7 separate regions of the Homo sapiens genome follow, and all the other regions are linked to region 1. Evidence: promoter capture Hi-C in 16 types of primary human blood cells and fetal thymus (Javierre and others, 2016). All regions are on one chromosome and are shown on one strand. The core of a region is centred on a gene start or on the middle of the fragment in contact, and the rest is flanking DNA. Distances in the headings are between cores, read along the strand shown. Region 1 holds the start of KCNJ1 (potassium inwardly rectifying channel subfamily J member 1). Region 2 has its middle 70 kb from the start of LINC02725. Region 3 has its middle 54 kb from the start of LINC02725. Region 4 has its middle 7.4 kb from the start of LINC02725. Region 5 overlaps LINC02725 (long intergenic non-protein coding RNA 2725). Region 6 overlaps LINC02725 (long intergenic non-protein coding RNA 2725). Region 7 has its middle 12 kb from the start of LINC02098.

Region 1 (3,850 bases), core at 944-3,443:
GCATATTTTTGTAAATGCCATTTCCTTGTTCTAGAATGTTCTTCCCCCTGCCTCCAGTAGGCCCCTTCCTGCCCACCCAGCGCATTTAGGATCATGCTTCCATGAGGTCCTCTGTAGGAAAAGTATGATGTACTTTTCTGTGCAGGCAGCGATGATACTATGAGCTACATTTCTGTGTCACAGTCCCCACTCATCAGGTATCTCTCCCATTAGCGTGTGAGAGCCTGTTTCCATGCACATAGCCCCTAGCCCAAGTACCTGCCCTCTAGAGCAAAGCATTTCCCAAGCCATTCAGTGGTTTCCCAGGACCTAGCATCCAAAACACAATGAGTTCTAATTACAAGCTTGTTGAAAGGCAAATGAAGAAAAAAACCTGTATGTATAATAATAATAGTCATGAGAAAGACAAGAATGAAGAGAAGAAAGACAATAGTCATCACTGGCATCTTAAATTATGGAGCCAAGGGGAGAAACATTTGGGTCACCCTCAGGATCAAACTGCCAGGCCAGAAGCAATTCCACTGAGAGGGCACCAGGAAGCCTTCAATGCATGGAAACCCTGGAGCAAGTAAAAGGCAAAGCATGTGAGTCACAGCTGAATCCCTGGACAATCACTGAGCTGTGACAAGGTGCAGGGTAGACTCATAACCTAGCACAGAAAAACACATTACTGAGGAAAGGAAAAGAACGTGAATGGGGAATTTTGAGACTTAGCTCTTCACAGAAAAGCATGCTTGGCAATTACAAACTTCTTATATTAAAAAAAATCAGGCAAACCAAAAGTCATTAAAGCATTAAAGATTAAGACCCACTCACAAGGAATTCACATACTCTGCTTCTTTACAAGGGCAGTCTTGCACCTACACTGACTTGGTGCACCTCCTTACACAGAAGAAATCCACCTTCATGACTTGAGTATAAAAAAATGCTTTTCTGATGGCCCATACGTTCCCAGATATCTCCACCCCATCATGCTCTTAAAAGCTGAAGCTGACTTAGTGAGAATCCATTTACACTAAACAGTGTAGAGTAAGACAACACAAGCCAAGCCCATGACTGAAGGGAGCCCACAAAGACTGGGCAGCTCCTCCAATGTAACCGAAGATTCAACCAAAGATTCTAACTGCCCTCCAGCCCCAGGGCTACGGAATGGCCCAGGGAAGGCAGCGTGCAGCTCGCAACTAATAATCCAGGTACAACCAGCAGATCAAAAGCATCCAGTGAGTGGCTCTGCCAAGTCCCTGTCCATAAAAGGTCCATAGCACAATCACTATGTTTTGCTCCATTTTGTAAGCCCAGCTAAAAGGAGAAAAATTCAATCATTTTTCCTAAAGATTGCTGGTTGCGAAAGACCAACTCCTTTTAAGCGTCTATGCACCAAATCTGTAAGATACAGATATTGGGAGAAGGGGCTCCATACCTGTTCAGAGCAGAGATAAACAGTTGGCATTCACTGGTATAGAGCAATTGTCACAACAGTCATTAGGAAGCTGAACAAATGTTGAGAAATCCAAATGTATCCATTCAGAATGGTGCAAAATTCCTATAAAGTCCTACATCAGAAAATGAAAGAAAGACATTTGGGTGAAGGTAATCAAAATGTCTGGCTAACTCTTGCCTTTTCCTGATATATGTTTTCCATAATAGACCCCACTAGCACCTTGATCCTCTACCTTAAAGATGGAAACGGCTTGGCAGAGGTTGTGTTACTAGGCAAGGTCTTGCTACAATTGAAAGGATGCCACCAGAGATGAAAACCCTACATACATCTCTGCCACCAAAAGAAGACTTTGGAATCAGGCATGATGCAACCAAAGATTCTTACTGCCCTCCAGCCCCAGGGCTGCGGAGTGACCCAGGGAAGGCAAGATGCAGCACACAGCTAATAATCCACATGTAACCAGCACACCAAAAGCATCCAGTGAGTGAGTTAAAACCATGCTTCTATCTATCCCCCAGGAGTGGACAGACAAGTCTGCCTAGATTTGAGGCGGGGAAAAGAGGTCTAAATTTTCACAAGAATTAACTTCTTTTTCCTACAAAGAGACAATGAGGTGTTTCTCCTCTTACCTCATGGATTGCTGGAGTAAATGTAGAAACAAAAACTCATTTTCTTGGTCTCCAAGAAAGCAACCAGATTCTCGATGTGAGCAAGTCCCTGCACCTTTGATGCAAGAGTTTGGATATGCTAGGTGAGGGTACCCGAGGCCCTGTTGATTTTATGAGTCTGTGGGCCAGCTCAGACCGGCTGCCAACTCATCTGTATGCAACAGTTCTCAAAGAACATAGTTTACTTTATAACCGGATCCAACAAGAGTAGGCGTGGCAGTTAAGTGAGTGAGATACCAAAGGTGTTGAGCTACCAAGGCTAACTAAGAAGGATTTGTTTATGGAACCCTGGCTTGGAACCAGAAGGCCGGTATGCTCATGTCGATGTGTCTAAGTCAAAGGCATGAAGTTGAACACGTGCGCACATGAGGCTGGATGTTACAGGGCAGGGAAGTAGGGGTCCCCAAGGAGCCCCTCACAAATGTCTCCTGTCCTGTGAATCACTCAGTGGCCCTAGAACAGCAGTCCCCAACCTTTTTGGCACCAGGGACCAGTTTCATGGGAGACATTTTTTCCATGGACCAGGGAGGTGGTGGGGGAGGATGGTTTCGAGATGATTCAAACACATGACATTTATTGTGAACTTTGTTTCTACTGTGTTTACTTATAATAATTACTTTACTTCTATTATATTCTATTATATTCCTTATTTCATTATATATTATATTCTAATATATAATGAAATAATATTCTATTACATTATATAATATTCTATTCTATTCTATAATATTATAGAATGAAATAATGAATATGGGATGAAATAATGAAATATTCTATTCTATTATAGAAGGAAATAATATTCTATTCTATTCTATGAAATAATATTCTATTATATTCCTTATTTCATTATGTATTATATTCTAATATATAATATAATATATATTATGTATTATATTCTAATATATTATATAACATATATTATGTATTATATTCTAATATACTCTATAACATATATTCTGTATTATATTCTAATATATTATATAACATATATTCTGTATTATATTCTAATATATTATATAACATATATTCTGTATTATATTCTAATATATAATATATATTCTGTATTATATTCTAATATATAATATATATTATGTATTATATTCTAATATATAATATATATTCTGTATTATATTCTAATATATAATATAATATATATTATGTATTATATTCTAATATATTATATAACATATATTACGTATTATATTCTAATATGTTATATAATATATATTACGTATTATATTCTAATATATTATATAACATATATTACGTATTATATTCTAATATATTATATAACATATATTACGTATTATATTCTAATATATTATATAACATATATTACGTATTATATTCTAATATATTATATAACATATATTACGTATTATATTCTAAATATTATATAACATATATTACATATTATATTCTAAATATTATATAACATATATTACGTATTATATTCTAATATATCATATAATATATATTATGTATTATATTCTAATATATAATGAAATAATTATACAACACCACCATAATGTCGAATCAGTGGGAGCCCTGAGCTTGTTTTCTTGCAACTAGACAGTCCCATCTGGGGGTGATGGGAGACAGTGACAGATCATCAGGCGTTAGATTCTCATAAGGAGCGCACAGCCTAGATCCCTCGAATGCGCAGTTCACAAAAGGGTTCAGGATCCTGTGAGAATGTAATGCCGCTGCTGATCTGACAGGAAGCGGAGCTCAGGCAGTA
Region 2 (3,850 bases), core at 386-2,885, 840 kb before region 1:
ATGATCTGATCAGAGACACTATGCAAACAGAGTGACCTTCAATAACTCTAGTCTATGGTGCCTGGGATGGCACATGCTGAATGAAAGCTGAGATAGAATGAGACAAAGTTACTGAGGACCTGTTGTAAAGGACCTTGATTGCTCAAGGTTTGTCCTTCCTCAGAGACACTAAGATCTCTGATGTCCTAGGCATGAATGCATAGTGTGAAATGAAGTCAAGAAGTGACAAGTTTGATTTCCTTAGAAGGCTGCTTGGGATAGACAGGTAAACATTAAAAGGCTGCTACAATTTTTATTTCAAATTCTAATAAGAATTATCTGTAGGTGTGAAGACTAGCAGTGGGTCACAGAGCACCCCAGAGACAAAGAAATAGAAACAGTCTTCTCTCTGCTATCCTCTGATATCTTCATAAGAGTGAGTACAGCAGGATGGTTGAGAAGCTTGGTTCTGCCATCAAACTGCACTAAGTCGGTATCTCTCCACTACTGGTTAAGTCACCTTGAACAAATTATTCTCTAAACCCCAGTTTCTTCACTTATAAACCAGATCTAATAATAGTACTTGCTTCATATGGCTGTTGAGAGGATTAAATGAGATCAGACATGGGGGTGCTTGGCCCAGCACTGAGCACCTTGTAAAAGCTCACTAAGCATTATTTTTTAATGCAAAAAGGATACTAGAGAAAGATGCTAGCACTGTTTAACATAAGCATGGACATTTTTTTAAAGATTAGTTTCTAATACCATCCTAACCCTTTTGTCAAGTGGGCTTGCTGGTATATTGATCAGAAACATAAGCTTCTGTTCTTCAAAGATGGCCCATTAGGGTTACAATTGTGTTCTTGTTTTATCAAAGGGAAGAAGGAAAGACACTACTAATGCTAATGGTGTCAACTAATAATTTTGGGTACAGAGAAGTCTAGAGAACACATTGCTTATGTACGTATCACTTTCTGGTGTTTACCTTACAATCAGATCCTTAGGGCTCCCAATGGGCCACTGTGAAACTAAAGGGCAGTCAGGATATCTCATTCTAATGTCATGTTTGAAAGGAAGATGCATGCCATACAATCTTCACCATCTTATACTGCCTGCCTTTTTCCTAAGAGCTCTAAATTTCTGCTGTGGGTCAAGGCTGGGAGGTGGTGTGATCAGATGGCTAAATGATTAAGAAGTAGCCTCATGAAGAGCCCGAGGCAGCCTGGCCCTCATTAATATATTCTGTTCAAGCCCCCTAGGGCAAGAATGACAACTGGAAATTATACTTGTCATCTTCCTAGAAGTTGGCATTAGTAAAGTATTTTCTCCTACAGGGTTAATGCTGGTTGAATATTCCTGGGGCATCTACAGATAGGCACTGTATGATCAGTGGAGATATTTTAAACCACCACAAATTTGCACAGGTGTAAATACGATGATTCAAATAAGTGGACACACATTTACACATACGTACACCCACACTTAAATACCACACCACATCCCCAAGTGTCGTATGACATCTAAGGCTTCCCTGTCTATCATCTGTAAGAGGAGTCCACAGATGAACCTATCTCAGGTGAGACTCTCCTGAGCTCAACACTTAGCTCTCTCTGAGTCCCTGGTCTCCCCATAAAGAAGAAGTTTTAAGAGGGTTGTGAAGCCATTTGACTGCCAGGAAACTCACAGCCAGATTTTGTGCTCAACTGCAGCAGCTATCCTAGGATTAGAATTTAGGTAAGATTATCACTCTCCTTTTCTATTTCTCTGCTCTTAGCTTTTTCCGGAGGAATGCATATTATACTCCTATACCTAATTTATAACCATAGAAGTTATCCTCAAAGGCCTTCATGGCCATAAATCTCATGAATCCTGTCCCATCCCAGAGTCATAGAGTGGATCCTATTTCTTCTAATGGCATCCCTAGTCCCTAAATACCTAACTAGGTGAAGGTTTAATTTTGAAACACACTGGTTCTCCAATGAAACAAATGCATGTAGGTCTGGGGGTTGTTTCTCTTACTTATAGATGGCTCAGACTATGACAAGGGCTTCATTCACCCAGTAGTTAAGGGAGGAAAGAACTGGAGACTAAAGACTGAAGGCAGACAGGATACTAGAGGGCTGGACCAGGGTCCTAGCCCATACATGATGCACACTGGGGTTCCCACCCAGCTCACTCTAGGACTCAATTTCCGCTTCTCTAGTAGGTCTAAATTATTTAAATCATCAATTTTCAAACATGTCTAAACTTGAAAAAATTTTAACAAAATATTGTAATGAAGCCAATAATAATAATAATAAAAGCAATAAATATTGCAAGTATTAATACAACAGATGGATACCTCAGTGTGACAGTTTCAGGAGTGAAGGGCGTTTCCCCATAGCTGCTAGCAGCTGACTGCCTCAGCTTTCAGACCTCTTTGACGACTGCCTTGGCTGAAGAAAATTGTTTCACCCAAAGTCACACATCTCCTTCTCAGGGCAGGCTTCATCTAAAGCTTGATCAATGCAGGGTTATAAAGATGTGGCTCCCTTGTTCCAATTCATGACAACTCCAGTGAACCAGCCTAGCTCTCAAGCTTCCTATGGCATTGGCTGTGAGGCTTCCTTGCAAATCAACTCAACTTTCTGTCCAATCTTGCTTCCTCTCCCTCTTTCCCCCATGTGTTGATCCAACAATACTCTCTGATACACATTCTGCTCTCTTATCTCTGCCTCAGGGTCTGCTTCCTGGGAACCTACTTGTGATTTTAACTAACATTCATTGCAACCTATTGCTTCAGGATCTGTGATAGGCTTTCCGCATGCATCATCTCATTTAACCCCTTTAACAGTCTTGCACAGGAAGGTAAAATGGGGTACAGGATAATATTGTAGGTACAGCACTCCCCCATATCTGTGGGGAATATGTTTCAAGACCCCCAGTGGATGCCCAGTGGGGAATATGTTTCAAGACCCCCAGTATGAAACCTGATTGCTGTCAATTGGAACATATTTTTGTTCGTGTCTTCCATGCAGAAATTTAGTGCCTTTTCTACCTTAACTAAGGACTTATCATGCACCGTAGCCAAAACTTTTGCAGTGTGAGAGGTGGCAGCAAAACCAGCATCATTTGTCCCCCTTCTTCACAATGCAATGGATAGAAAATTCGTTCCTACCAGAAATCTCAGTCACCTCAGCAAACAACTTTTTTTCTTTCCTTATTAAGTTAACCTTTCTACTTGAAGGAAGCCTTTTATGACGCTCTTTGGCATATGTGAACTGCCAACGTGACTACTCTTGCATTTTGGGGCCATTATGAAGTGAAATAAGGTTGACTCAAATACAAACACTGTAATGTTGCAATAGTGCATCTGATAATGAAGACAGCCACTAAGTGACTCACGGGAGAGCATTGTAGACAGCGTGGACACGCTGGACAAAGGCATGATTCACATCCCGGGAGGGAGAGGGACAGCACAAGATTTCTTCATGCTACTCAGAACAGTGTGCAGTTTAAAACATATAAGTTATTTATTTCTGGAATTTTCCATTTAATATTTTTGGCTCTTGATTGACCTTGGGTCACTGGAACAGCAGAAAGCAAAACCACAGCTAAAGAGCATTATTGTCTTGGCATCAGCTAGACCAGGTCATCCTACTGCATTAGAACTTAGTATAGAATCTTGGGCAATATTTTATTTTTTCTAATCCTGTTTTCTCATGAGTGAAATAAGCCTTATTAATAGAACTAAGTTTTGATGCCTCTTGGAAACATTAAATAACATATTTTCAAGGGGAAGCATCCCAATTGCAGTAAGTTTTACATGAATTCAACTCTACATCTCCGGTGAGGTTTTTTTTGCACCATTTATATTATGTAGGCAGTGGAA
Region 3 (3,850 bases), core at 863-3,362, 830 kb before region 1:
TGTATTTTATATTATTTATTACGATCTTTCATGAATTAGTAATGTATATGCCAGTTTTCCCTGGTAGACCTAGTAGGAGAGGCATTACCATTCATCTATTTGTATCACTTCCACAGTGTCTGGAATAGTGACTGATTTTTGAGTGCCTTTTTAACATGAGTGACATTTTCCATGCTTAATTGATATATGTTTAACTTACTTAATTTCATTATTAAAATAAAGGTAAAGCACAAAACAAAGCGACACTTATTATAAGAAGTCGATGAGCAAAAGTAATCAATTCCAGAGGTTTTGAAGAATACATTCTGACTCTTGGTGATCATTTGTGTGTCATTTGATGAACATGTTTTGGATGACAGTTGAGATTTTTATGTCATTCAGTTTAATTAGCACTTCCATGTAGACTTTCATTTTAATAAATGTCAATCTTTTTTTTCTAAAATATTAACAGTACAAGGAAAGAAAGAGACAAAAGTAATAAAACCACAAATAGGACGACCGAGCTGGAGCTCAGCCATCTAACAGATGTTCCCATGCCAGCATCAACCTGGCTTCTCTCACAGCCAGATCGAAATCAGTCTTTACTTTCCACATGGACAGGAAGGTAAATATTCAGATAATGTGCAGAAGAAAGATTTAGCTGTGATATGATTTGAGGCTCAGGGAGCCTGGAAACAACTGATTATTGAAGCAGAGAGTGTTGAAATAACATGTTGTTTTAAAATTCTTCAGTGGGAGACTAATATTTCAACACATTTGAATGACTTCCTTGCAGCAAAATGCTTAGGCTTAAAACATGAAGCTGGATAAGTAACAGGAGCTTCCAAGAGAAAAATCACTCAACTTATATATACTCCATGGCCAAGAAATTCAGGGTCCGTAGTTAGACACGTTCCCAGCAAGCCCACCTCATGTTGTCTGTTCTCAAGAGGGATGACTTTGGGTTGGACCTACTTTTCAAATAAAACTGTTAGGTTAGTGAGAGACAAATTTCAGATTCCTAGTTTCTCATGATGCAATGACTGAGGAAATTAATGTTTAAATGACAAAATTTGATTTTCTGACAATTAGGGAAATAAAGATAAATACTTCTATCCAACCCCTACACAAATCCATACATTGATTGTACAGTGATTTAGTGAGAGCCTACATGAAATAAGTCTTGTGGCTAGAGTTTCATCTACTGAATTTAAGTGATGAATCAGTTGCATAAAATTAGAAATCCTCTAATTTGAGTAGAGAGAATATGATCTTCATTTTTATAATGAAATTGCTCGGTGGGGGGAACTACACTTATTAGATCAATGCCCATAACCAGAATGTTGGTTTTTTCCCAACATTTATTAATTCTTTACTTACTGTAAGACATATTATTATTTTGGCTTTTGTTTGCACGACCTTTTGTTTCTTTTAAAATTATTTTTTAATGTATTGTTAATATTATTTTTGATTGACAAAACATAAATATATACATTTATAGAGTACAATGTGATATTTGGATATACGTACACAATGTGGAATGTTTTGTTTCTGATTCTTCAATAGAAATAAAATGATAATAATTATTATTATAAAAGCACATGAAAGAATGGAAATTCCAATAGGCAATCTAGACTTCTAGACTGGAGAGGACTTTATGAATATCCCTAGGTCTCTCATGAATAATCAAGGTCTGTTGTATAAGGATTTGTGAGAAAACAAGACTATAAACAATGTGTTCTTGGGTCTTTACATTTGTACATAAAAAAGTCTTTCCATGAAGTAAGTATGATTATTTATTCTTCATGATGTCTATTAGAAGTGAAGGTAAATGTGAAAGTGGGTCTCTTTTTTTAAATGGTGATGAGAAGCCGGGACCCAGGAATACCAGAATCTTGCCCTCCAAACCATCTACCTTCCCAGCCCCCAATAGGATTCCCAAATGATCCCTGTGAAAGGATCAGTAGACAATTAACAAATAAAGTAGCATTTTATTGCAAGCTAGGTGAAGACCCAAGCCTAAAAACAGGGCTCTCTGAAATAGCTGGCTTGGCATATCTTGGCTTGAGCTAATGTCCAAATTGGGCTAAGGCTGGCATCCACCCACTCCAAAGCCCACACCTAAACTTTAGATCTCACTCCTATGATCAGCTTCATGATCAGGAAAGAAACCAAAGGATGTGGCACACAAATCAGTGGAGTAAATATTTGCATATGGTTAGAGAGAGAGTGAGAGGACACCACGGCTGCCCTAAATAATCAAGCCCAGGGGAGATGAAAGAGATAGCATGCCTGCCACATGCATGATTAATGGGCCCTGTCAGTGCTCACAGTCCAGCCCGACCAGCAACCCCACACCCCCACCACTTTTGGTGAGGGGAGCCAGGGTGGGATGGACAGAAAGGCAGGCAGTCCTCCCCATTTCCACAGCGGGGGTAGAGCAGAATGAGCCAGGACCTGGGCTTGCACTGATGGAAGCAGGCAACAAAGAAAAAAAAATAGTTACAACCTTTGGTGACCTTCTCTTCATGGCTCATGATCTGAGGACTGAGAACTAATGTTTCAAATCCATAGGTCACATTCCTGCCTGCTTCTGTCCACTCCTGCCCTAATACCTCATGCAAAGATATTCAAGGGCTACTTTTATGCTCAAAGGAAACAACAGCTCTCTCTTTTCCCCCAAGTTCTGTTCCTGCTCCAAACTCCCCCTTGATAAATAGGGAAAGACATAGTAAAAATGTTTTTTAATTTTTAATTTCTAAATAGTTTTAATGTTATATCAGTAACAACTGTAAATGATTTCTAAAGTCAAATAATTCTAAAAGTCTTAAAGTGAAAGAGTATCCTGTTCCACCCCATCCCATTCCTCAGGCATTTTATTCCACAGGTAACTCTTCTTAATTTTTCTGGTTATTTCACATGATCTTAGCTTTCATATGTCTAAATAGTATGTTTATTTTGCTAGACTTATATATATATATCTGTTATATTTACGTATATGTATATGTGTGTGTATGTGTGTGTGTATATATATATATGCCTAGCAAAAGGAAGGAATGTCAATGAAACCACAAATAGGAAGATCAAATTGGATCTCACCCATCTAAGAGAATGGATACACACACACACATACACACACACAGACATATATATATATGTATATATTTCATGTGTCTCTATGTGTGTGTATATCAATCTATCTAAGTTTTACACATTATATACTTATAACCTACAATTGGAGATGAGGATTAGCTTTTCTACACCCACTACCATCCCAGATTCACCTACTCCCAGCTTCCTAACATAGTTATATCACAGCTTTTAGTAAAATCGATAGTTCACATTCTTATGAGTATCCAAATATTGTTCACTATTCTACTTCCATCTTTCCTATAAGCCCTCTGATGCTGTTGTTGCTCTTCTTTTTGGAGTTATTTCCTCAATTTTTCATTTACCTAGTTTTCCATAAAGTAACTGATATTTTTTCAAGAATTCTAATCTCTGCCATAGGCCCAAAAGCATTATTTTTCATATACTCAGATTTGCCCTCTGTTCTAATTTGTACTATTTTCTGTGAAGGTCTTCTTTCCAGGTATAAACCTGAATATTTCTTTTGATGCTCACTTACATTAGTTATTCTTTTTGCTAGATGTAAAATTTTCCTCTTGATCTCTTTTTTCTTTAATTTTTTGTTCAAAAACATATTATAATATCATCCTGAAATAAGGTGGTAATAAGTTAGTTTTTCAGCTCCAATATATCAGAAATATTTTATCATCACATCTGATAGTGTATCTGGGTATAAAATTTGATGCTAAGAGTCTTTTCAGTCAGAATTTTAAAACTGAAGCTCCCTTGCCTTCTAACTGCC
Region 4 (3,850 bases), core at 1,007-3,506, 780 kb before region 1:
CCTCTGTCTGAGTTCACATAGTAGTAGGACTGCTGGACTGGCAGCTCCAGCAGGAATTGCCTCCCTAGCTACCTGTAGTGGCAGTTATGAAGTTGTCTGCCCTACTGTCCACGTGTTTGCCAAGACAACAGGAGGCTGTGGCTGCCAGCCGAGTCCCGGGAGAAGTGGGACAACTGAGCTGGAATCTCTTGCTGAGCCCTGTCCAGGAAAGGGCCATTGTGACTGTGGCCTCTGTTGGGAATATGGCACCAGTATTGGTCTGCTCTGGGGCTCATGTCTTGTAGTTTCTTTTGGATTGGAGAGTTTCTCTTGCAAAACATCCAGGTAGCTCTCTGTCTCAGTCTAGAAACATGTTGGGTGAGTGTAAAGGGGCCAAGAGGATTCTCCCATTCTCAGTCTTGCACAGGTCCCTGTGAAGAGTGTGAATCCCCCAGGAGGCTCTCACTCACTCACCCTTTCCCATGTTGTAGGAGTTCTCCTGACTTCATGCTGAACCCAGACAGGCTGGTGTCTACCTCTACTCCTGTCTGCTCTCTGTGTCCCCCTGCTGCCTTGATGAATCCCAACATGATTTCTCAGATGATCAGCCTGCAAGGTCAAGGTTCACTACCCATTTTGTTTTCTCTCTATGAAAGTAGCTCACGTGAGCTGCTTCTAGTCTGCCGTATTGGCCCATCCCTCAAGTATTTTCTTTTATGATTAATGTTATTTCTGTCATCTATGGACCTGGCATTTACATTTAGAACTACACTCTATTTCAAATTGACTTTTGTATATGGAGTGAGTTCAGGATTACAATTTTTATTTTTACAAATGAAAATACAGTCCTTCCGTAAAATATGGTAAAAATAATTTTCTTTCTTTATTGAGTTGACAACTTTGTCGAAAACCAATTAGATATAAATATGAAGCTTTATTTCTGGACTCTTTATTCAATTCCAGTGATCCATTTATGTAATATTGCACCAATACTACCAATAGTAACTGTGTCTTCGTTACTATGGCATTATATTGAATTGAAAATAAGATAAAGTTCTTCAAAGTTGTTCTTTCGACCTTCAAGATTATTCTGTTCTTATATATGCTTTGAATTCCTAAATAAATTATAAGTTTTCTTATCAAAATGCTAGTATTGGCTGGGTGCAGAGCTTCATGGCTGTAATTCTAGCACTTTGGTAGGCCTAAGGGGGCAGATCATTTGAGGTCAGGAGTTTGAGACCAGCCTGGCCAACGTGGTGAAACCCCATTGGCTCTACTAAAAACTACAAAAATTAGCTGGGTCTGGTGGCGGGTGCCTGTAATCCTAGCTACTTGGGAGGCTGAGGCGCTAGAATCACTTGAACTCAGGAGGCAGAGGTTGCAGGGAGCCAAGATCACACCATGGCACTCCAGCCTGGGTAACACTCCATCTAAAAAAAAAAGTAGTATTTTTTATTAGAATGGTGTTAAATCAATCAATATGTGCATTCTACATTATGTACCTCTTGATAATACTGTCTTCTGACCTATGAACATGATATATCAATCCACTTATATATGTCTTCTTTTATTTCTCTCAGCACTATTTTATTTTTCACCTCTTGCATGTGTTTTAAGGACTTTTTTTGGTATTAAATTTTTATGCTGATGTAAATAGAATTGCTGTTTAAAAATTCATTTTCCAATTGTTGGTTGTTGGGTGTCTTAGGGGTTTTTTGTGCTACTACAGTGGAATGCCTGAGGCTGGATAATTTATAAAATCATAATTTTTAATATAGTTCTGAAGCCTGAGAAGTCCATAATCAAGATGCCAGTATGCTTAGTGTCTAGTGAGGGCTGTTATCTCTGCTTTCAGGATGGTACCTTGTTACTGTGTCCTCTGGAGGTGAGAAAAACTGAGTCTTTAAATAGCAGAGGGACAAAAAGGAATGAACTCCCTTCACGAAGCCCTCTTATAACAGTTTTAATTTATTCATGAAGGTGTGGCACTCATGACTTAACTACCTCCCAAAAGGCCATACTATTTAATACTGTTACATTGGAGAGTTTTTTCAAGAGATGAATTTTGAATTATAAGGGACACATTCATACTATGGCATTCTTTCCCTGCCCTCCCCCACTAATGTCCTTCTCACGTGCAATGCACCTTCACTTTATCCAAATAGCCTCAAAAGTCTGTACTTGTTCCAACATCAACTCAAAAGTCTAAAATCCAGATTTCCATCTAAGTAAGTCAGAAATGGGTGAGACTCAAGGAACAATTCATCCAGAGGCAAATTTCTCTTAAACTGTGGGCCTGTGAAATGAGCAAGTTATGTACTTCTAAATACAATGGTGATACAGGCATAGAATAGACATTCCTGTTCCAAAAGGAATAAATAGGTAAGAAGGAAGAGGTAGCAGGTCCCAACTAAGTTTAAAACCTAACAGGGATAACAACATTAAATGATAAGGCTAGAGAATAGTCTTTTTGAACTCCATGTCCCACCAAGAGGACACACATGGGTGGGGATGCTCCCCTCCCCTACAGCTTCACTGACTGCAGCCCATGCCACAGCTCTCAGAGATAGTTAGGTGTCTACAGTCCTCCCAGGCAGGAGTTGCATGTTGGTGGCTCTATAGTTAACAGGCCTTGGGGATAGTTCTGACCCCACAGTTCTTCTGGACATTGTCCTAGCATGGACTGTATTTGGAGCCCCCACCTCTGCTATATAGTTCTCTGCCTCAGGAAGGCTGTCTGAGATATTCTTTGAAGTGTAAGTAGAGGCAGCCATACTTCCACAGCTTGTGTGCTCTGCATTCCACATAGATGATGCCAAAGTTTAAGGCATGTGCCCTTAAGTCACATCTCAAGTCACACCTAGGCCCACCTGCACCACAGCTAGGGTGGCCAAGAAGTAATACACTGGAATACAGAGAACAGAGAGCTAAGGTATCACAAGCACCCTAGGAACCTCTCCCCAAACTATTCTGACCCCAAGGTGAGGGAACTCTGGGCCTGTGATGCGCATGGCAGCCTGGAAGATCTTTCAAATGCCTTTAAGTTCATTCTACTACTTTCGTTATGAATAGTACATGGCTTTCTTCTATTTATACTAATCTTTTTATAAAATGATCTCATGTCTACATCCTTGATTTCCTTTCCTAAGCACACATTTTTTTTTCTTTACATGGCCAGGCTAATTTTCCAAATCTTTACAATCTGCTTCTCTTTTAATTATAAATTTTATCTTTAAATTATTTATTCCTTCTTCCCTTTTACTATAAGCAGTTGAAAGAAGCCATGCAGCATCTTAAGTGCTTTGTTGTTTAGATATTTTGCTGACAAATACACTAGTTAATCACTCTTCAGTTCTTCCTTCCACAGGGTCCTAGGTCACATATAATTCAACCAAGCTCATTGCCCCTTTTTAACAAGGATGGTTGTATCTCCAGTTTCCAATACCTTGTTCCTCATTTCCACCTAAGATCTCATCAGAATAGCCTTTACTCTCCATATTTCTACCAACATTCTTTTCATGACCACTTAAATAATGTCTAAAAAGGCAAGTTTTTCCCTATATCTCTCCTCTTCTTCTGAGCCCTTGTCAGAATTGTTCTTAATGCTCTGCTCATGGTAATACAAGCTTTTTTCTGCATGAATTTCAAAACAGTTTCACCTTCTACCCATTAACTGTTTCCAAAGCCGTTTTTATATTTTTAGGTATTTGCCATAGCAACACCCCACTCCTGGAACCAAGTTCTTTCTATGTTTTGTGATAATAAAACAGAGTACCTAAGATTAAATCATTTATAAAACCAGGAATTTATTTTCTCATAGATCTGGAGGCTGGAAAGTCCAAGATCAAAGTGTTAGTAGGTTCAATGTCTG
Region 5 (3,850 bases), core at 925-3,424, 730 kb before region 1:
AAATTTGGGCATATGCGTACAAAGGAGTAGAGAAGAGAGGTCTACAGTGTGGGGTTTTGGATCAGAAATAATTTGGTTTGAGCTGCAGTTGAAGCCCACTGTGTCCTTGGGCAAGTGACTAAATCTTCCAAAGCTTCTGTTTCTTCATCTAGAAGTCCATAATAACAATGATATCTGATAATAATAACAAGATTGATCTAATATCCTTTCAGAGAAGAATGTTATGACTAAAGCGCTTAACACAAAGCCTCAAATATAATAAGCATTTGATTGATGGCAACTGTTATTACCACCATCTTAAATAATATCATTATTAGTAGTTGGTTATGAAATAAGACAAGTACAACACATAATGCAAAAAATCTGTCCCCTAAAAACTCCACAGAGAGTAACAAACAATATTCATATTCTTGAAAAAACTTTTTTCTCAAGGACGTATCTTTGTGGTGTGTGAGTATGTACTTGCGTGTCTGTGCATCTAGCTATAAAAAAGTGTGTGTGTTTTATGTTGAGAGTGTGTGGATGGGAGTGGTTTCTTGCATTCACATTTCAGTTTTATATGTTACCTCAATTTGACAACTGAAAAGAACCAGTGAGGTTAAGCATCACAGGGAGAAGAAATCCATGGTTGAGAAATAGGTTGATTTTGTCACATACTGTTGGCTCAAGGTTGTGAAAATTAAGTGTAGGAATGTTGCTTTCTTTTTCCTTCTGGCAAATGAAAAGGCCAAAGCTCAGAATTGTTGGAAATGACAGTCCAATTAATCAGGCTCCATGCTTCAAACTAGGTGCTGAGCCTGTCCATGGTTGTGAAATTTTTAAATGACCCCTTTGTCCTCGGTGGTGCCAAAGTGAAATTCCTTTGGGATCACTTGCTTCTTGGCACCTGGTATCTGACCAACAAGAATGCGAGACAAAAGGTTCTTTCAAAAAAAAGAGACCAAGCTGTGCTTTTGTTTCCTCTGAAAGAAAAAGGTAATTTTACAGAAATACAGCAGGATTATCCAACTACACTATATGCCTCTGGCAGGTATCGCTCTATAAACAACTGAATCCAGTTAGACCTACAAATGTTGACTCCATTTTTTAGAATGCCAACAGAAAAGAAGGATTGTAATATTCTTAGACTTTTAGAATGGAGAGTCGAGATCAAATCTTCTTTTCTTCTACTCCCTGAATTTCTTTTGTCATATGGGGAACAATTTTTTTATTAAATGGAGAACAAAGAGATAAAATTAAATGTCTAAGATAGCACAGGAAGATACAGTTAGAATGAAAACCATGATCTCCTAATTCCCAAGCAAAGTCTTTGCACCCTAATGGACCCCCAACAGTAGAGACCTGTGAACTCTCTTCTTCCAATGCTGGAGAAACAACATTGAAATCAACCTAGAGATATAGCCTGCTTTACAAAGTTAATTTAGGATTTCCAAATACTTCATCTCAATTGCTCCTGACTACATAACTATGAAATAAATTGGACAAGTATCATAGGCATTTTATGCACAAGCAAACAGACTCAGAAATGTTAAGGAACTTGGCCTAAAGTCTCAGGAAGCTGAGTATCCTCTCCAGGTCTCCTAACTCCAAATCGATTTTGTACTAAGATGGGATGGAATTATTTCAAAAGAAACATGACAGAAGAACAGAGATTTTTTTTGTTTGTTTGTTTCTTTCTTTCTTTTTGAGACGGTGTCTCGCTCTGTCACCCAGGCTGGAGTGCAGTGGCGCGATCTCGGCTCACTGCAAGCTCTGCCTCCCGGGTTCACGCTATTCTCCTGCCTCAGCCTCCCGAGTAGCTAGGACTACAGGGGCCCGCCACCACGCCCGGCTAATATTTGTATTTTTAGTAGAGACGGGGTTTCACCGTGTTAGCCAGGATGGTCTCAATCTCCTGACCTCGTGATCTGCCCACCTTGGCCTCCTAAAGTCCTGGGATTACAGGCGTGAACCACCGCACCCGGCCAAGAACAGAGTTGTTAAATAGCTTACCTGAAGTTATACAGCCATCTCAGATTAAATAACTTTTCCCTGGAACATGAGTGATTGATAATGGAGGCCTTTTATTGCCTTTTAAAGAAAATGTCAGCATTGATGGTTGGTAATTTACCAAAGAGGGTAAAATGTGCCTAGCCTGCCACTAACTCGCTCAGTGAATGCTTTTTTGTCACTTATTGTATGCTTGAGAATTTTGCTGGACACTTTATGTACACTTAAAATTTACCTCCTTTGAACTCTATGAGTTAAGTAGGACTAATCCAATTTTTCAGAGGAGGAATTGAGGCTTTGAGAGAACAACAAAGTTTCCAAGTCATATTGCTGAAGAACCAAGGTATGCATCAAGGTAGAGCATGATGAAAGTTATTTGAGGCCTTGTAACTATTTATGGCTTTTTATGACTTGACGCAGGTCCTAGCCTCCATGCTAAGGAAAAGACAATCAATGGATTGGAATTTAAAACCCAAGTCTAACCTATTTTAATGTCTATACCCTTTCCTCTACTGGCCAATTTCTTTGCCATAAAGAGTACTATTGATCTAAAGTTTCTCTTCTGAATAGGAATAACAGGACCATTTCCAGCCCTTTGAAGATCTCTACAGACAATACATTTTCATAAAATAATAGTTATTTTCCTATTGAATCACATTGCCTTATTACTTCTACAATTTTGACTTCATTCATTTAACCTCTCTATAGACTGCACAATTTGCCTTCCCCACACGAATATTATTGTGCTATTCTAATACCTGTGGAAGTTAAAACGACACAGTCATCTATTGAATAGGGAGTTGGATCATTACAGCCCAGTTTAGAAAGTAATTTTCCCAAGACACGCTTTATTTAAAGTCAGGGAAGAAGCCTCCATTATAAATGCTTTCCACTGTAAAGGGTAATGAGTTGCCCGGAAGCTCTGATTAGCTGATTTCCCCTGTGTACTCCCTGCAATGGGCAAATCAGTGCTGACTCAGTCACTGCCTACTTGGCCTCAGTTATATGGCTCTATTTGACTTGTTCTTGGTTCACCACCTTCTTTCCCTAACTCTCTCCAGGGCAGTAGTCGCTCAACTGATTTTCTCACCCCAACAATTATCTTGATAAGTTGAGGCCTGACAGAGAGCCCAGGAAGTGCCCTGTTCCATGCCCAACAAGGACATCTTGGTGGCTCTGCGACAGCTATGTCTTGTGAATTGCATTTGTAGGATGTCGGAAATCTCTGCTATGTCTCTAGAAACATAAGCAAATAATCATTCCAAATAGACATAGGGCTAAATTTACTGAAGTGTATGCTTGGAAATACTAGCTCTTTCTGTGGTCACCTTTTGTGGTCATTATTTGACAAACAGTCCTCAGCAGGTACACAGAAAGCACTCTACTTCCTATCGCAGAGATTAGCACTGAATATTAACATAAATGATGGGAGAAATTCTATAGTAAAGAAATTCATGGCCGGGCGTGGTGGCTCACGCCTGTAATCCCAGCACTTTGGGAGGCCGAGGTGGGTGGATCACAAGGTCAGGAGATTGAGACCATCCTGGCTAACACAGTGAAACCCCGTCTCTACTAAAAATACAAAATAGCCGGGCGTGGTGGTGGATGCCTGTAGTCCCAGCTACTTGGGAGGCTGAGGCAGGAGAATGGCTTGAACCCCGGAGGCGGAGCTTGCAGTGAGCCGAGATCGCGCCACTGCACTCCAGTCTGGGCGACAGAGCGAGACTCCGTCTCAAAAAAAAAAAAAAAAAAATTCATCTGGTTTTATTCAACGCAGTCATTACTAAAGTTACTTGACCATGGAACTGGGATTTTCAGTGAACACTAATAAACACCTTCTAGCACTACTTGTTCATGGAAT
Region 6 (3,850 bases), core at 677-3,176, 690 kb before region 1:
TCAAAACTAATTAATAAAAGACAAAGCCATGGATTTTAATTCAACTATATATGATCCTAGAGTCTGTGCTGTGCCAAACAGTTTTCAAGACCTGAAAAATCATGTCGTCGAGTCTACACACCAAAAGAGATTGTATCAGCTGCCTAACATGCCCACTAAATATTCACTCAGTCTCCTAAACACAAGAAACTCACTCCTTTCTGAGGCAGGTCGTTGCATTTTTGAGCAATTTTAGTTATTTGAAAACTCTGATGATCACATTTTCAAAGAATGGCAAAACCTTGATGTAGAAATGAAAGAGATAATTGAAAAAATCCAGGAAATTCAGAAGCTGCGGCTCACAAATTCTTTTGCCCACTTTAATTTGAATGTTTTAGCTCCTGTGAATGATGCATGAAGCCGCTGACATTGCAACAGATGGCGCTTTGGAAGAGATTCCTTTCTGAACTGCCTGGCCCTCTTATGGAAATCCTGTGAGGGGTGATCTCTGGTGACCAGGCTCAGCAGGAAGAGGAATGTGCATCCGACCTTGTGCGGAAGGTGTCCCCCAGCTGTTTTTGCAAATATCTGTTTTGTCACGGGGGTGGCTAGGTCACAAAACCTAGAGTGGCTCATGGCTTCATAGTAATATAAGTCTACCAACCTCCAAGACAGACTTCAAATCTCACTGTCAAAAGCACCTAATTGCTACATCTACTGAGCCCAGCAGGTCCTATGATAAAATTCAGTGCATTACATACTGACCTAATTCTTATCTATTCCTTTCCCAAACCCTTTTTCCATCTTCCTTTGCCTTCAAAATCAGGAATATGAAACTGTATCCATACAGCATTGCCATGTAAATTACTGGATGCACAGATACATTTGAATTGCAGATCAACAACTCATTTTTTAGTATAAGCACAGGACATGCTCACACTGAAAAATACTTGTTGTTTGTGTGCAATTCAAATGTGACTGGGCATTCTGTGTTTTTATTTGCTAAATCTGGTGACCCTAACCCATACAACAGCAAATCTATATTTTATTAAAGTATAAATGAGTACATTATTGTATATAACAGCTGTATTGAACGATTTTTGAATAGAAAAAGTCAAACTATGTTCCAAACATCTTTTAAATCTTTTTATAAGGCCAGGGATCCCTTTGTAATTAGTAAAACGAAAGCACCCCTGGATTTGTATAAACTCAGGTTTCCATACCTCAGATCCGTTTGAAGTGAAGCACTCTCAAATTCCCTCAGTTAGTGATAATGGTGGTCCTTACAGGAAGTACCTTTGTTTCATTCCCTAACATTTGTTTTCCTCACCAAGGTGTTACCATTAACTTTGAATGGGTCAAGTTCATGCTCCCCCAATGCTGCCTCTTTATTGACTTGTCCTGCTCTATGTGGATGAAGAGGCTCCAGAGATCCTAAAGCTGTACTCTGGACATAGCTTAGTGGCAAGCACAGGGAAAAGTGTACAGAGGAAGACAATAGGCTGGAATCGGAGGCTTCCAAAAATAAAATTGATTTTCTTTCTTTAAGAATTCCCAACTTTGTCTTAGGGACAAAGCCGCTGGATTTAGCAAATAAAAATACAAAGCACCCAGTTAAATTTGAATTTCAGATAAACAACAAGTAATGTTTTAATATAAATGTCTTGTGTATTGCATGAGATACCCTTATACTTAAACATTACTCATAGTTTATCTTAAGTTCAAATTTAACTGGCATCTTGTGTTTTATCTGGAAAGCTTACCTGGTAACATGGGGAGCTGCTTGCTGTCCTCAGCACTGAGGTGTAAAATATGTAGGATGACTGGCACAAAATAGGCAACAACAATAGCAACAAATAAACAGTCACAACAGCAGTAGCAGCACTCAACAAACGCCAGCCTGGATAGATTTCCTTTAAGGCCCAAGAAACGGTTTCCAAGTGCTCCTCTCAAGCTGGGCTCTTCCTTTATATTGCCCCCTGCTATGGTTTCAGTGTGTCCCCTCCAAAATTCAGGTGTTGCCTATGTGATGGTTTCAAGAGATGGGGTCTTTAAGAGGTAATTAGGTTTCTTCATCTGAAAAATGGAATTGATGATGGTAATAGCCTCCCAGCATTCATCCCAGGATATTCATGAGAAGCTTTACCATTCAAGGGCCTTGTGTATGTAAATGATTATGCTACACTTATTTTTCAGGTCTGGTTTCCTCTAATAATAGAAACAATAAACTGTTTGATATTTCTTGGCATCATTAATAAATCAAAAGTATGTTCCCCTTGTGTTCTATATTTTGCAAAATAATGAGGAAAAGAAAGAACAGGGTTACTGAGCTCTTCGTTGGAATTTTCAGGGAGTTTTGGGTAGAAATTAAAACCAAGAGTAATTAAAGCAGCAGTTCACTGACTGAATGATCATCAGACTCAACTGTAGACCAGGTAGAACTTGAACGCCCAGATCCAGCATACACTTGCTGAATTAGGATGTTTTGGGGTGTAACTTGGAAGTGTGTCCTTTGTAAAAGTTCCATAGGTCATTCTGATGATCAGCCAGGCTTGGGAATGACTGATCTAGGTGGAGGATAAATACGGGTTACCTGATCGATGTGATGTCTTAATTAGTAGATACATGTAACAATTGCTCCCTTTTCACCATTTCCACATGCCTTCCTCTCCCAGGAAGAAATGGCCACAACTCACCACTCACAACCCCAGATCTGTTTAGTTCCTTCATTCTTACCATGTTATAATCTGGCCAGCCAGAGGATTTAGGAATTGATTAATTTAGGAATCTAAATTGATAATTTAGAGAGATATCTAGGAGGTAAAAGTCAGGAGGATTTGATAGTAGATTGAAAGTGAAGAGGGAGAAGAAAATGGTAAGAAGAATGACCTGTTTTCTTGTTTGAGCAACAGAGTATGTGAACACATGGATCCTTCTCAGAGAGATGGAATTTAAAACAAGAGGGTGGAGTCAATTGTTTTAGTAGATACGTGTGACAATTATTCCCTTTTCACCATTTCCCCATGCCTTCCTCTCCCAGAAAGAAATGGCCACAACTAAGAAATAAGAAACAAGTTTGGAGATGCAGGCAAAGTCTCTATTCACCCACTCATTCAACCATCCAATTATATCCTTCAGCACTAACAGAGAAAAACCTCTTCAGACACTGGTGCTTTCCACAGCTCTTCTCAGGGGTCAGTCTGGTAATGAGTTTGGGACTTCAAAACATGCCATGCAGCCAGGCAAACTGCTCCTCTATAGTAGTCATGAGGACCTCCACACTCCTGAGCCCAACAGACATCTTTCAATTCTCATGGTACCTGACAACTGCATTGCATTTGATAGGGTTCTTTCCATTCTCCTGGTTTATTTTCATTTCTCCAAATATAGTTTTTTTTCCCTATCACGTCCTCCACCAATTTGACCTCTTCAGTTGGAATTCCTCAAGCCTCAGTTTTGAGCCCCCTTTTCCTCTTACTCTATGCTTTCTGTCAAAACATTTGACTCCACACTCTTGTTTTAAATTCCATCTCTCTGAGAAGGATCCATGTGTTCACATACTCTGTTGTTCAAGAAAGAAAACATGTCATTCTTCTTGCCATTTTCGTCTCTGTCTTCACTTTCAATCTACTACCAAATCCTACTGACTTTTGCATCCTAGATAGCTCTCTAAATCATCAATTTCATTTTGTTTCTACCATCATCATCCAAACCCAAGCCACAGCCAGTACTCACCTGGCTCCCAAAGGCTATCTTTGCTTCCACTTCATCATCCAAACCCAAGCCACAGCCAGTACTCACCTGGCTCCCAAAGGCTATCTTTGCTTCCACTCATGACACTCCCATCTTGCCCCTGTTTTCCAAGGAGCAA
Region 7 (3,850 bases), core at 931-3,430, 670 kb before region 1:
TCAGATCTTAGACAGAGCCCCAACTGCAAGTGACTATATCCAAGTGCTCAGAAATGTCCTATATGATAAAGAAATACACAAAAGAAGTGGGAAGGTATAATTAAATAGCTAACAGAAAGTGGCTGTAAATCAATGAATTTATCACAGTAGTCTTTGCACTCAGATATATCATCTTTAAATATCAGCGATGTCTAAACAACACTTGAAGTCAATGGTAGTGGAAATTCAATAGAGATAAGCACAAAGTCTTCCCCAGTTCATAATTTTCCAAAATATCGCTCAACATATTTCAAATCTGTTATGTAATTTCTTTACTTTCCACTTGGCTTTGCTGTACACCAATTCAAAAAGCCATCTCTTCCTGCTTCTATTATACTGCCTTGCCCTGAAATGCATTTGGACGCAACTGAACCACAACGGTTCCCGCAGTAAAGGAGTGAGCAGAGGCAAGAGTAATCTTATGTAACAGTTACATAGGAAACAGCTGGGGAAGTGAGAGATCGGTACAGCCAAGGCCAGCCACAGGAAAGAAACACCCAAGCATCAATCATCATGTTCAGAAAATGACAATATTTAATTCTACCAGGAAAAAAAAAAAAAAAACTGAGGTGGTGAGGGAGCAGAGAATGGGTGAATGTCTGTCCAGGCTGTTAGACAAACATAGACTCTGGATTTATTTTGAATTTAGATAAATAATCCCTGCATCCTCAGCAGGAATTTTGTTCTGGGAAGTTTGTACTTCTGTTTACGTGCCTGCCCTGGGTCTCAGTGTGGGAGCAGGCAAATGGTTAGTGCCTGGCTTAAAGTTTACAGTGGAAAGCACTTCATCAACAAAGTGTATACATTCATTCAGCCACCCAAAAATGCAACATATATTTCTCTGGATTTTTAATTTCCAGTATCTATCAGATAAATATATGTATATTTACATTTATATATATATATGTATATATTTAAAATAAATATATTGTATATAAAAAATATATATATATATTATTTTTTCTTGCCCTCTCCAAGTTCTTAACCACTTTAATTAACTTACTAGCTCTCCCACATGATATGAGACATGATTCACCTTCTACTGGATATGAGCCTACATGAAATTCAAATAGAGAAACGTCCTTACTGTCTAAACCTGAAACCACAGGGAGAAAGAAAATAGAAAACTTTTCACATAAGACAGGTAATTTTCTTAACAACTACAGATTAATATATTTTTTGCTGTAAATTTTATAGGACATTCTGTAGCCCAATTGCAAGAGCAAATTTTTCACAATGTATGTGTAGGTTTCTACCTTCAGTTTTAGAGAATATTTAGTGAAATCAGAGATTTGTTTTATTTATTTGAATATCTTTATTGTCTGCAGTTTTATTACTTTTGGAAAAAAAGAGGAAAAATCCAGCCTCTTCTGGTTTGCAATCTAAGCTCCATTTTTTTCAGGCTATTTTAAAGAGACTTCCATTATGAAATCCATTCTCTAACATCTGCAAGACTTGTCTTTTTCTGGAAGAAGAGTGGTTATAGTAATTGAGTAATAGGGAGTGAGATATGTCTCAGCATTCTGCACATTTTATTAATCACCAAGTGGTAAATAGTAAGCCTCTGCCCTCTATTTATAGTATAATTGGATGTATTTCATGACACTGGCTACACATCTGGTCAAACTGTAAAGCACACTTGCAGCCACCTTCTCTTTTTGAACTCCTAATGTATCACAGACTACAGAAAGATGTCTGCAGATAATAACAGAAACACAAAGTAATGAAAACCTTCATGAAGGACACTTCCATGGATTGCCAGAGCATGTGTCAATCTATGAGAAACTTTGATGGATTCAGCGACCTTCTTGAATTAAACAACACAATAAAAGGTTTTAATGGTAATGTAAATTAAAAATGCAATGTTAAGTAAGGCCTTAGGGATCTTGGTGAGCAGAACTGTTGAGATGGTGTTCGCAACGGAGTCTAATTCTTTGCACAATCATACATTCACACACATCGGTATACAAACTCCTGAGTTCCCACATGTGGATTCACAATTTGTAAAAGATTCTGTTTTTCATTAGGCTGGGAAGAAATGTGTTCCACATTTCTTTAGGATTTGAATTCTTTATAGGGAGAGGGTGGAAAAAGGAATCTATCTGAATATTGGACTTCAAAAACATAAGAACCAAATAAAGAGATCTGCACTCCAGAGTATAACTAATTCCAAATTACTTTGCCCAGTGATTTTAAGAAGTGAGATTAAATGTAATAATGCCTACTTTCCCCAGGATTTGAGTTTTCTGGACAGCATTTACCAAATGGGACTGGTAGAGGGTGTAATAGTGCTAATAGAAATGGTACCATTCTTACCTTCCCTATTAGATCTTCAGTTAGATATTGGCAGCCCCATGGTGTTTGTGTTTACTAATCAATGCTAGTGGTTCCAGGAAGCATTTCACAGTATTAATGAATTACAGGCTTAATAAACCTGTTTTCCCCAATTTCATGACTTTCTAGGTCAGAAATTCTCAAATATTAATGTACCAAAGAGTCTCCTAAGTAGCTTGTGAAAAGTACAGATCCAAGCCATGCCCAAAGATGGAGTCTACATCTCAGTCTCAGATTCTGCGAGATATCCGTAGGGTATTCTGAGATACCCTACGGATAATCCAGATGCAAATGATCTCTAAAGTTCACTTTTAATAAATGCTGTTCCAGAGATATTTCCCTACTTCATCTTCTGTCTTCTCCAAAATCATAAAGCTATTGGGGGGAGAGGGTTCAGTAATTATGCTTATTCTTGATTGTTGGACAGTAAGTCACTTCAATAGCACTCCCTATAGCACCATCATATTTAGGGGCCTTAAAAAATAAGTTAGCCTTCAGTGAAACTCAATCAGTACTTAATCAATTACTCTACCCAAGGATGATTAGCATTCTTTTTGTTCTAAGACATAAATTAGATGGAGGATGAGAGTCATCAGTGAAATGGATGCCCTACTACCATAAAGTCATTTGGCATTATGTATTATAAGACATAAGTGTATTGTGATAAATTAATCCTATTATATTATTATATGACTATGTTATATTACTATTAATATGTCAAATAATTTGATATTCTTATGATAAAATGATATTCCTGCATGGTTGTATCAAATAGCTGTCAGATGAAAATTACGAGTTATTTATCTACTGTCACTAATCAATGATTTTACTATCAATAATTTGTGCTACTGGGAGATTTTATTGGAAACTATAACAAAAATAAGAGGTACTATCTATATGTTAAAAACTGATTTGATTGTATTATGCTTTTTTAGCTCTGATTACCTGAAAGTTATAAATACATTGAGTTTTTGCCCTAATTATCCAATAATTGTCTTATTTCAATATTTTATTCTGTAATTTAATATTCTGTTCCATCTATGTTCATGACTGTCACTCTCCAGAGCACATTTTTTTTCAATGAGTAAAATTACTAACAGAAAGGGGGGACTTAATTTAACAGGAAAAAAAATTATGCAAGAAAGGATTTATGGTCCTGCAGATGTTTCCAGCTGAAATACCAGCTGGCATTGTAGTTGTTTGTGTGGAGTGGAATCCCATAAGCCAATGAAAGGAGACAATCAGTTTTAGCTGACTCAAATTTTTTTATTTCCATTTTTCTAACACAGATGAATATGATGCAAATTGTTTGAAAATAAGAGCCTTACAGCTAAGTACATTACCATACTCTGTTGAAAACAAAAAAAAAAAACCTGGTGACGTGACAACTGTCTAGAAATACTGCCTTCTAAAGGTTGTTAAAATGTGGCGGGAACCCTGTTAGTTATTTTGACTTTTGCTGCTATTGCTGGTGCCA

What was found. The method cuts DNA at HindIII sites, captures the fragments that hold promoters and counts their contacts. A CHiCAGO score of 5 or more calls a contact.
Region 2: a fragment that was not itself captured here is called in contact with the fragment with the promoter of KCNJ1 in region 1 in 4 of 17 cell types (activated CD4 T cells, naive CD8 T cells, M2 macrophages and 1 more); the score reaches 6.3 in activated CD4 T cells.
Region 3: a fragment that was not itself captured here is called in contact with the fragment with the promoter of KCNJ1 in region 1 in 1 of 17 cell types (non-activated CD4 T cells); the score reaches 7.0 in non-activated CD4 T cells.
Region 4: a fragment that was not itself captured here is called in contact with the fragment with the promoter of KCNJ1 in region 1 in 1 of 17 cell types (monocytes); the score reaches 5.5 in monocytes.
Region 5: a contact is called between a fragment that was not itself captured here and the fragment with the promoter of KCNJ1 in region 1, in 2 of 17 cell types (activated CD4 T cells and non-activated CD4 T cells). The highest score is 5.8, in activated CD4 T cells.
Region 6: a contact is called between a fragment that was not itself captured here and the fragment with the promoter of KCNJ1 in region 1, in 7 of 17 cell types (neutrophils, non-activated CD4 T cells, total B cells and 4 more). The highest score is 11.2, in neutrophils.
Region 7: a contact is called between a fragment that was not itself captured here and the fragment with the promoter of KCNJ1 in region 1, in 2 of 17 cell types (neutrophils and monocytes). The highest score is 6.3, in neutrophils.

What each region holds. Positions count from the first base shown.
Region 1 is chr11:128,865,103-128,868,952 of GRCh38, forward strand. KCNJ1 (potassium inwardly rectifying channel subfamily J member 1) reads right to left here and starts at 2,194. Exons shown (of 3, transcript NM_153766.3): 1 at 2,071-2,194. It overlaps LOC107984409 (a long non-coding RNA gene), which reads left to right. Exons shown (of 3, transcript XR_001748442.2): 3 at 1,648-2,077. The HindIII fragment of the contact is 3,543 bases long and covers 343-3,850 here.
Region 2 is chr11:128,023,457-128,027,306 of GRCh38, forward strand. No RefSeq gene overlaps it. Among named protein-coding and RNA genes, the nearest start is that of LINC02725, 70 kb to the right of the region's middle. The HindIII fragment of the contact is 1,678 bases long and covers 797-2,474 here.
Region 3 is chr11:128,040,161-128,044,010 of GRCh38, forward strand. No RefSeq gene overlaps it. Among named protein-coding and RNA genes, the nearest start is that of LINC02725, 54 kb to the right of the region's middle. The HindIII fragment of the contact is 5,296 bases long and covers 1-3,850 here.
Region 4 is chr11:128,086,457-128,090,306 of GRCh38, forward strand. No RefSeq gene overlaps it. Among named protein-coding and RNA genes, the nearest start is that of LINC02725, 7.4 kb to the right of the region's middle. The HindIII fragment of the contact is 2,694 bases long and covers 910-3,603 here.
Region 5 is chr11:128,134,848-128,138,697 of GRCh38, forward strand. All of the region lies in intron 2 of LINC02725 (long intergenic non-protein coding RNA 2725), which reads left to right. Among named protein-coding and RNA genes, the nearest start is that of LINC02725, 41 kb to the left of the region's middle. The HindIII fragment of the contact is 4,086 bases long and covers 132-3,850 here.
Region 6 is chr11:128,174,258-128,178,107 of GRCh38, forward strand. The region is part of intron 4 of LINC02725 (long intergenic non-protein coding RNA 2725); the gene reads left to right. Among named protein-coding and RNA genes, the nearest start is that of LINC02098, 33 kb to the right of the region's middle. The HindIII fragment of the contact is 382 bases long and covers 1,736-2,117 here.
Region 7 is chr11:128,194,863-128,198,712 of GRCh38, forward strand. No RefSeq gene overlaps it. Among named protein-coding and RNA genes, the nearest start is that of LINC02098, 12 kb to the right of the region's middle. The HindIII fragment of the contact is 5,347 bases long and covers 1-3,850 here.